2 separate regions of the Homo sapiens genome follow, and region 2 is linked to region 1. Evidence: promoter capture Hi-C in human tissues and cell types (Jung and others, 2019). All regions are on one chromosome and are shown on one strand. Each heading gives the region's core, a stretch centred on a gene start or on the middle of the fragment in contact. The rest is flanking DNA. Distances are from core to core; before and after follow the strand shown.

The links. Contacts are between HindIII fragments. The study calls those that stand out against the background at their distance.
Region 2: a contact is called between a fragment that was not itself captured here and the fragment with the promoter of SLC18B1 in region 1, in 1 of the 25 tissues and cell types used here (mesenchymal stem cells).

Annotation. Positions count from the first base shown.
Region 1 is chr6:132,796,066-132,800,233 of GRCh38, forward strand. SLC18B1 (solute carrier family 18 member B1) reads right to left here and starts at 2,572. Exons shown (of 14, transcript NM_052831.3): 1 at 2,349-2,572; 2 at 917-1,056. The coding sequence starts at 2,391. RefSeq lists an enhancer at 858-1,358 and a silencer at 2,590-2,639. The HindIII fragment of the contact is 3,873 bases long and covers 363-4,168 here.
Region 2 is chr6:133,899,573-133,903,514 of GRCh38, forward strand. No RefSeq gene overlaps it. Among named protein-coding and RNA genes, the nearest start is that of TCF21, 12 kb to the left of the region's middle. The HindIII fragment of the contact is 4,638 bases long and covers 1-3,942 here.

The DNA.
Region 1 (4,168 bases), core at 1,322-3,821:
CGGCCGGGCACGGTGACTCACGCCTGTAATCCCAGCACTTCGGGAGGCGGAGGCGGGCAGATCATGAGGTCAGGAGATGGAGACCATCCTGGCTAACACGGTGAAACCCCGTCTCTACTAAAACAATACAAAAAAAAAAATTAGCTGGGCGTAGTGGCGGGTACCTGTAGTCCCAGCTACTTGGGAGGCTGAGGCAGGAGAATGGCGTGAACTCAGGAGGCGGAGCTTGCAGTGAGCCGAGATCGCGCCACTGCACTCCAGCCTGGGCGAGAGTGCGAGACTCCATCTCAAAAAAAAAAAAAAAAAAAAAATTACCCGGACGTGGTGGTAGGCGCCTGTAATCCCAGCTACTCGGGAGGCTGAGGCAGGAGAATCAATTGAACCCGGGAGGCAGAGGTTGCAGTGAGCCAAGATCACAACATTGCACTCCAGCCTGGGCAACAAGAGCGAAACCCTGTCTCGAAAGGAAAAAAAAAAAAAAAAAAAAAAGGAAGGGGGGTCGGGAATCAAAACGTCCTAATTCTAAAATGTGAATAAAACCTCGAGAAAATAGTTACTGTCTTAACACAGACCTATTGCAGTAACATTTGAATCTCAGTTATTCAGTGCACTCCTTTGTTTCAGTTGCAGAAACCAAATAAAGATTAATCAGACTACATGGTAAGAAAAGTAATTCTCAGAAGATCAACTACTTTTAGGTGAATTACCTCCCAAGAAGATGTTCTTTTTGACTGGATTTTTTTTCCTGGTATCAGGCATTCTATAAGAAGTATTCTATTGGCTGGAGTTCTATACACCATCTGTCCTATATGCAGATTTTTACATTTTATATACTATAAAATAAAATAATTCAAAAGGCTTTTAAAAAACAAACAAACAAAAAAACAGAGGTCCTAAGGATTTAAAAATGTCTTACCTCTTTGGGGAAAAACGGTCCAAGTATAGAATAGCACATCATGGAACCTAAGTTCACCGAAGCTGCCGATATCAGTACAAAAACCTGTTCTCTCGAAAGCCACCCGGGGGTCTCTCCTGCACTTCCTGCAGGATCATCACCTTGAATGCAAACATGCAGCAATTAGGCATATAATTGAGACTACTGATTAAAGTACACAAATGTGATTTCTGTGCACATATGTTGCACTCTGAAGATATCATTTGCTAAGCTTAGGGCTATTTTGAATATAGCACATTTGATCAAATGGAACACAATCCTTGTACATTACTGCCGTTTTGAAAACGTACTGCTTTCGGCTGGGCACGGTGGCTCACGCCTGTAATCCCAGAACTTTGGGAGGCCGAGGCAGGCGGATCACGAGGTCAGGAGATCGAGACCATCCTGGCTAACACGGTGAAACCCCGTCTCTACTAAAAATACAAAAAATTAGCCGGGCGTGGTGGCGGGCCCCTGTATCCCAGCTACTCGGGAGGCTGAGGCAGGAGAATGGCGTGAACCCGGGAGGCGGAGCTTGCAGTGAGCCAAGATCGCACCACTGCACTCCAGCCTGGGCTACAGAGAGAGACTCCGTCTCAAAAAAGCAAAACAAAACAAACAAACAAAAACAAAAACAAAAACAAAAAACAAAGATTTCTAAGGCAGTATTGAAGTCAAATGAAGTGTAAGTAGGAGAAAACAAGCTAAATCATTCAGCTGGTGAATTAATATTTACAGCGGTATGCTTCTGGATAGACAAGTCCCACAAATTCATAAATAAATACTTTTTTTTTACCCTAATTACTGGTCTTTTACATCAGTTAATTTAACACTTATTTCCAGGGCTAAATTGTCATTTAAAAACACGAAATCAATTACTGAGTTCCAAATATCCAAGCAAATCCATCAGCCATTTATAAATTAAATTGTTTTTAGGAAAAACTTAAGAGAAATACATTTGCTTTGCTCTATTTGTCAGAGGTTGCCATTGCAGTCCAGAAGGAAAAAAAAAATCAGTGCAACATGAGGAAGTCTTACGAATCTTTGTAAAATGTTTGTAGTAGATGAGAAAGGGAAATGAAAGTTAAAAAGAAAGGCAACAACAATGGGTACTTGAAAGGTAACGTTTTACATTTGCCTAATGGCATACTTATTTGAATGCATTAAACACACAGTACTTAAAAAGCAGAGGTATAGGTTAGAAAGTCATTAGAAACCGTGACACATATCCAATCCTGGAACTTTACCCCGTCCAGAGAGAAAAGAAACGCTGGCCCGAACCCCACGATCAGGCCCCAGCCTTTTCCAATCTCTCGGAAACAGATCAAGCTATAAGCAATTCAATCGTTGCTAAAGAGACACGCCGGAAGCCGCCGCTGGTCTCCGGGCTCCCGGCCACGCAATTCATGGTCACCTCCTGGTGCGCGTGGTCCCTCCAGGTCACCCAGCGCCTCCATCCCCGGTGCGTGGACTCCGGCGCCCCAGCTCCCGGCTTCAAGCCACGTCCTTGGACTCGACCTCCAAGGAGCCACTGGCACTCTGGCGGGCGGCCGCTGCTCAGCTGGAACCTGGCATCCCCGACTCCCTGCAGGCAGCGATCCGCCCGGCCCGGAGCTCCCCAAAGCCTTCCAGGACTCTGGGTCCCCGGGAGGAGGCCGGGGGCGGGGCAGGGGTGGAGCAAGGCTCCTTTTTTTTTTGTTTTGCGCCCCCCCCCCGCCTCATTATCTTAATCCACCACCTCAGCTGCTATATCATGGTGTCCTTTTTCATTCTGTGACAGAGAGTGAAAAAAGATGAGTCTATATTCCATACAGCTGTACCCCCCTCAATCTTAAAATAAGTTCAATTTATTCCTACGAAACGAAAGAAAGGAAGCTTATGTAGACACAGAAAAGGCAGGGAGTACCTCAACTGAAAGACACAAAAGTGAATTAGAAAATTAGGTTATACAGGAACTTTGAAAGAGTGAATTATTTTTCACAGTGGGTAAATGCGGTAGTGTTCGTAATTACTGAAGCCAGACACTATTGAACCGGAAATGAATTAACCTATGTGAAGCACCTGGAGTCGAAAAATATTTGCAAGAATACTAATGAATATCGAGGAAGCATGGCGAAGTGGCTAGGAGTGCGACCTCTGGAGGCAGGTGCCAGGGATTCAAGCCAGGGCACTTGCTGGCAGTGTGTAACTTTGGATGACAAGGTCAGTTTCTCTACCTGTACAACTGAGATTATAATGTTTATCTCGTAGGGCGGCTGTGAGCATTGGCGATAAAGTGTGTTAGTAGTTAGCACATGAACATGATGGCTGCTACCTTACTCTCACACTCACAGTTTTCTTGCATAAAAAATAGGTTTCACTTATTTTCACCGTATTTACTATTTGGGAAGTGTTAAAGCTCGAGGACTGGCTGGACACGGTGGCTCATGCCTGTAATCCCAGCAGTTTGGGAGGCCGAGGTGGGCAGCTCACCTGAGGTCAGGAGTTCTAGACCAGCCCGGCCAACATGGTGAAACCCTGTCTCTACTATAAAAATACAAAAAAATCAGCCAGGCGTGGTGGCAGGCACCTGTAATCCCAGCTACTAGGGAGGCTGAGGCAGGAGAATCGTTTGAACCTGGGAGGCGGAGGTTACAGTGAGCCAAGATCCAAAAGAATTGTGTGAGGGTAGCTTTATCGACTGAGAATCTGCCTCAGATCCACTGTACAAGGTCAGTTCCAGTACACAGTATGGCTGATAGTAAGTTTGTAATTACTGTGCCACCTCATTCCAGCCTGGGTGAAAAAGCGAAACTCTGTCTCAAATAAATAAATAAAGTTTAAGGACTGGGAAATTCTTGTTTTGAAGCCAAAGCAAAACAAAAGACTGAGTTACCACTTTGTGCCAGGCATTATGAATTTAAAGAGGAATGAGCCCCATCCAGACTCTGCCCTCAAGTAGCACACCTTCTAGCAGATGAAATTCACACTAATTAATAATCTACTATAATGCAATCGGTTGTATACAAACATATTGGAAGAACCATTTACTTTGGCAAATGGGTCCTGGATGACTTCCTGAGGAAGTGATGTTACCTTGGTTCTTGAAGGTTATGTAAAAACTCCCCAGTGAGGGCCGGGCGCGGTGGCTCACGCCTGTAATCCCAGCACTTTGGGAGGCCGAGGTGGGCGGGTCACGAGGTCAGAAGTTCGAGACCTGCCTGACCAACACGGTGAAACCCCGTCTCTACAAAA
Region 2 (3,942 bases), core at 628-3,127, 1.1 Mb after region 1:
TTTAGTCAATCCCAGTCATGAAAGTCTTGTGACTTTTTATTATGTAACAGTTTTTGTCATAAAAGAAACCATCCTGAAACCCAGTGGCTTAAAAGCAATAAGCTTTAGTTGTTACTCAGGAATCTGAGTTAGTTAAGAGGCTCTGCTGATCTGAGCTGAGCTCTACTGTTCTTGCTGGGGCTTGCCCATACATTTTTGGCTGGCTGTCTATTTGGCTAGGAGCTAGCTGGTCAAGAACAGCCTCACTCACATGCCTGGTGGCTGGCCAGTTATTGGCTAGGGTATGAGGAAAACCAAACCATGCATTTTTTTTTTTTTTTTTTTTAGACAGGGTCTGCCTCTGTCACCCAGGCTGGAGTGTAGTGACACAATCTTGGCCCACTGCAACCTCCACCTCCTGTGCTCAAGCAATCCTCCCACCTCAGCCTCCCAAGTAGCTGGGACTACAGGTGCATACCACCACACCCAGCTTTTTTTCTTTTTTAGTAGAGACAGGGTTTCACCATGTTGCCCAGGCTGGTCTCGAACTCCCGACCTCAAGCAACTCACCTAGCTTGGCCTCCCAAAGTGCTGGGATTACAGGTGTGAGCCACTGGGTCCAGCTAAACCATGCATCTCTAATCATCCCATAGGCTAGTTTGTTCTTGTAGCAACTAGGGAGGGAACAGAAAGTCATAAGGCCTGTTGGACCTAGGTTTACAACAGGTATAGTGCCACTTCTGCTGTGTTCTATTGGCTAAAGCCAGTCACAAGGGCATCCCAGATTCAAGAGATAGGGAAATAAATTTTACCTCTCAATGGGAGAAACTACAAATGCACTTTGCTTAGAACATGTAGACTGTGTACGTGTGGAAATTTAGAACTATTTTTATAATTAATCTACCACACAAAAGTTTTTTTAAAAAAATTCTTTGGCCCTTCTGAATAATTTTCCACTTTGAAAGGTCAATATCTAGTGATTTACCACCCAATTTTATCTTCTGGTTTATTAAGAACATTTCTTAGAAGAGTTCTCTGTTATCTCTGTAATTTTCTTCCAAGCAACTGATACCCATTCTATAGTTTTAATATTGACTCTTTCTTGATATTTTTGGCAGGGAGCATAATGAAAATAGCAACATAAATTAGTCACACCAAGCTTTCTTTTACTTATTCTTACAAATTTGGAGGTTTCCCTAACCCTAGTTGCATTGTTTGGCCTGTGTAGTGGGCTAAATGGTGGCCTCAAAGAAATCAGATTCTAATTCCTGGAAACCGTAAATATTACCTTAATTGGAAGAAGGGTCTTTGCAGATATGATTAACGATTTTGAGATGGAGAGATTATCCTTGGTTGTTTGGGTAGGCCCTAAATGCCATCACAAGTGTCCTTATAAGAGAAAGGGAGAGGGGGATTTGATGCACAGAAGAGAAAATGGTGATGTGAAGACAGAAGTAGAGATTTAAATGATGCAGCCACAAACAAAGGAAGAGTAGCAGCCACCAGAAACCAGAAGAGGCAAGGAAGAGATTGTCCCCTAAAGCCTCCAAGGGAACATGGCTCCGCCTACACCTTGATTTCAACCCAACAAAACTGTCATTGAACTTCCAGCCTCCAGAACTAAGAGAAGAGTAAATTATTGTCAGCTGAAGGCACCAAGTTTGTGGAAATTTATTAAGGCAGCCACAGGAAACTAATACAGCCTGTGTTAGGCAATCCTTTGCATGTATCTCAGTAACCAAATATCACAGGATCATCTACTTATTGTTTACTTTTTTTCTTATGCCCCAAAAAGCACTTTGATGTTAATTTGTAAGAAAATATGGAATTATGGATATTCTTCCAATGGCAAATGCCTTTGTTACTACACATTGATTCTCTATTTCCATTACTTTCTATGCATAAAATAACATTTTTTCAATATGGAATCAGAGCATAATCTTTGTAAAGACATTCTTCAACTGCAGTTGAATCCATTATAGCTCCGACAATACAAATTGTTGAAACAAAGAGACCAATGTTAAGATGCATCCTGATTTTAGAAATGTGAAAATGGGCCAGGCGTGGTAATTCACATCTATAATCTCTGTACTCTGGGAGGCCAAGGCGGGTGGATCACTTGAAGTCAGGAGTTCGAGTCCAGCCTGCCCAACATGATAAAACCCCATCTCTACTAAAAATACAAAAATTAGCCAGGTGTGGTGGTGTGTGACTGTAATCCCAGCTACTCCAGAGGCTGAGGCAGCAGAATCACTTGAACTCAGGAGGCAGAGGCTGCAGTGGGCTGAGATTGTGCCACTGCATTCCAGCCTAGGTGGCAGAGAGAGACTCCATCTCAAAAAAAAAAAAAAAAAAAAAAGTGAAAATTTGGGGAGAAAATGCATCTTAGAATGATGATATATAGTAACTCATTTCACTCTGAGCTGGACTCTACTGTTCTTGCTGGGGCTTGCTCTTATATCTGTGGCTGCCTGGCTATATGCATCATCATTGAGTGTCCACCGTATGCATGACCCTGTGCTACACATTGGAAATAGCTGAATTAGAGGACACGTTCCTGACTTCCAGCTTGAGTATTCCTCAGAAGACCCAATCACTTTTCTGCAAGGACCTGGCAGGGGAGGGCAATCTTGTGTTCTGAAAACTGCCAGCTGTGCCAGTTTCCACAAGGGTCAGCTACCAGGACATGCTGGCTGCCCCTGCCGTACTCTACCACTAGGCTACTGACACCTCAGCCTGCCATTCATGTAGCTAGCCCAAAATGGAGCACTCCCACCTGCCTCTATCCCAGACTAACCAATTAACCAATGGTGGGCAAGTATCTGAAGAAGTGATTCCAAAAGATCCCTCCCTGTATCTAAGGTAGTTGTCCTGGAGGTTTTTATTTTCCCAAGGCTGAAATTGGACTCTGGCCATTTGGAGATGAGCTATATACGGTGGGCCATCATTCTGCTACATGGATATGGGCAGCCATCTTGTAAATATGTACTTTTGGTCCTAAGTGAAAAAATTTTTAAATATGATAGATGTGTTCACAGAAACTTACCTCCACTACTGGAAAATCAACTCAAAAACTATGAATGATAGACCATCAGAGTGATAGCTGAGCTAATTTTTCATTCCCCACCTCCCAAGGCCCTCTGCATCATCTTAGGGACCATCCCCTCAAACAGTTCATCAATTTTCCAAACCTTTTTGTCTCTAGAACCTGTCTTTTGCTTTTTCTTCTCTTTTGAATCTTATACATTAACTCATAAATTATATGATACTGAATTCCACTATCCTTCTCAATATTTCATATCAGGTACATTCAAATGTATTAGAATAAGTTTTTTAAAAAGTAATATTTCCTTTTTTGGGGGGGGGGGACGGGGTCTCACTTTGTCACCCAGGCTGGAGTGCAGTGGCGCGATCTTGGCTCCCTACAGCCTCTATGTCCTGGGCTCAAGCGATCCTCACACCTCAGCCACCCAAGTGGCTAGGACTACTGTGTGCTACCTTGCCTGGCTAATTTTTTAATATTATTTATAGAGACAGCGTTTCTCCATGTTACCCAGGCTGTTCTCAAACTCCTGAGCTCAAGCGATCAGCCCACCTTGGCCTCCCAAAGTGCTAGAATTACTGGCGTGACCCATAACACCAACCAAAAAGTGGTATTTTCAAAAGCTCATAGATAGACTTGAGCTTGGATGCTCTGCCATCTAGCTGCTCTGACCCCAAGCAAATCCTTTAATGGAAGCTGATCATAATCCCAAAAGACACAATCCCAAATGCTATAAACCTGAATGTTGGAATCCCAAAAGATCAGAATCTCAAAAATATAATTCTGAAAAAAAAATTTAATTTTTTAAAAGATTTTTATTTATACTTTAAAAAGGGGATTTACTTGAGAAGCATAAAAATGCAACAGAAGGCTTCATAGGCCACTTTACATAATAAAATAAGCCATAATAATGTATATAT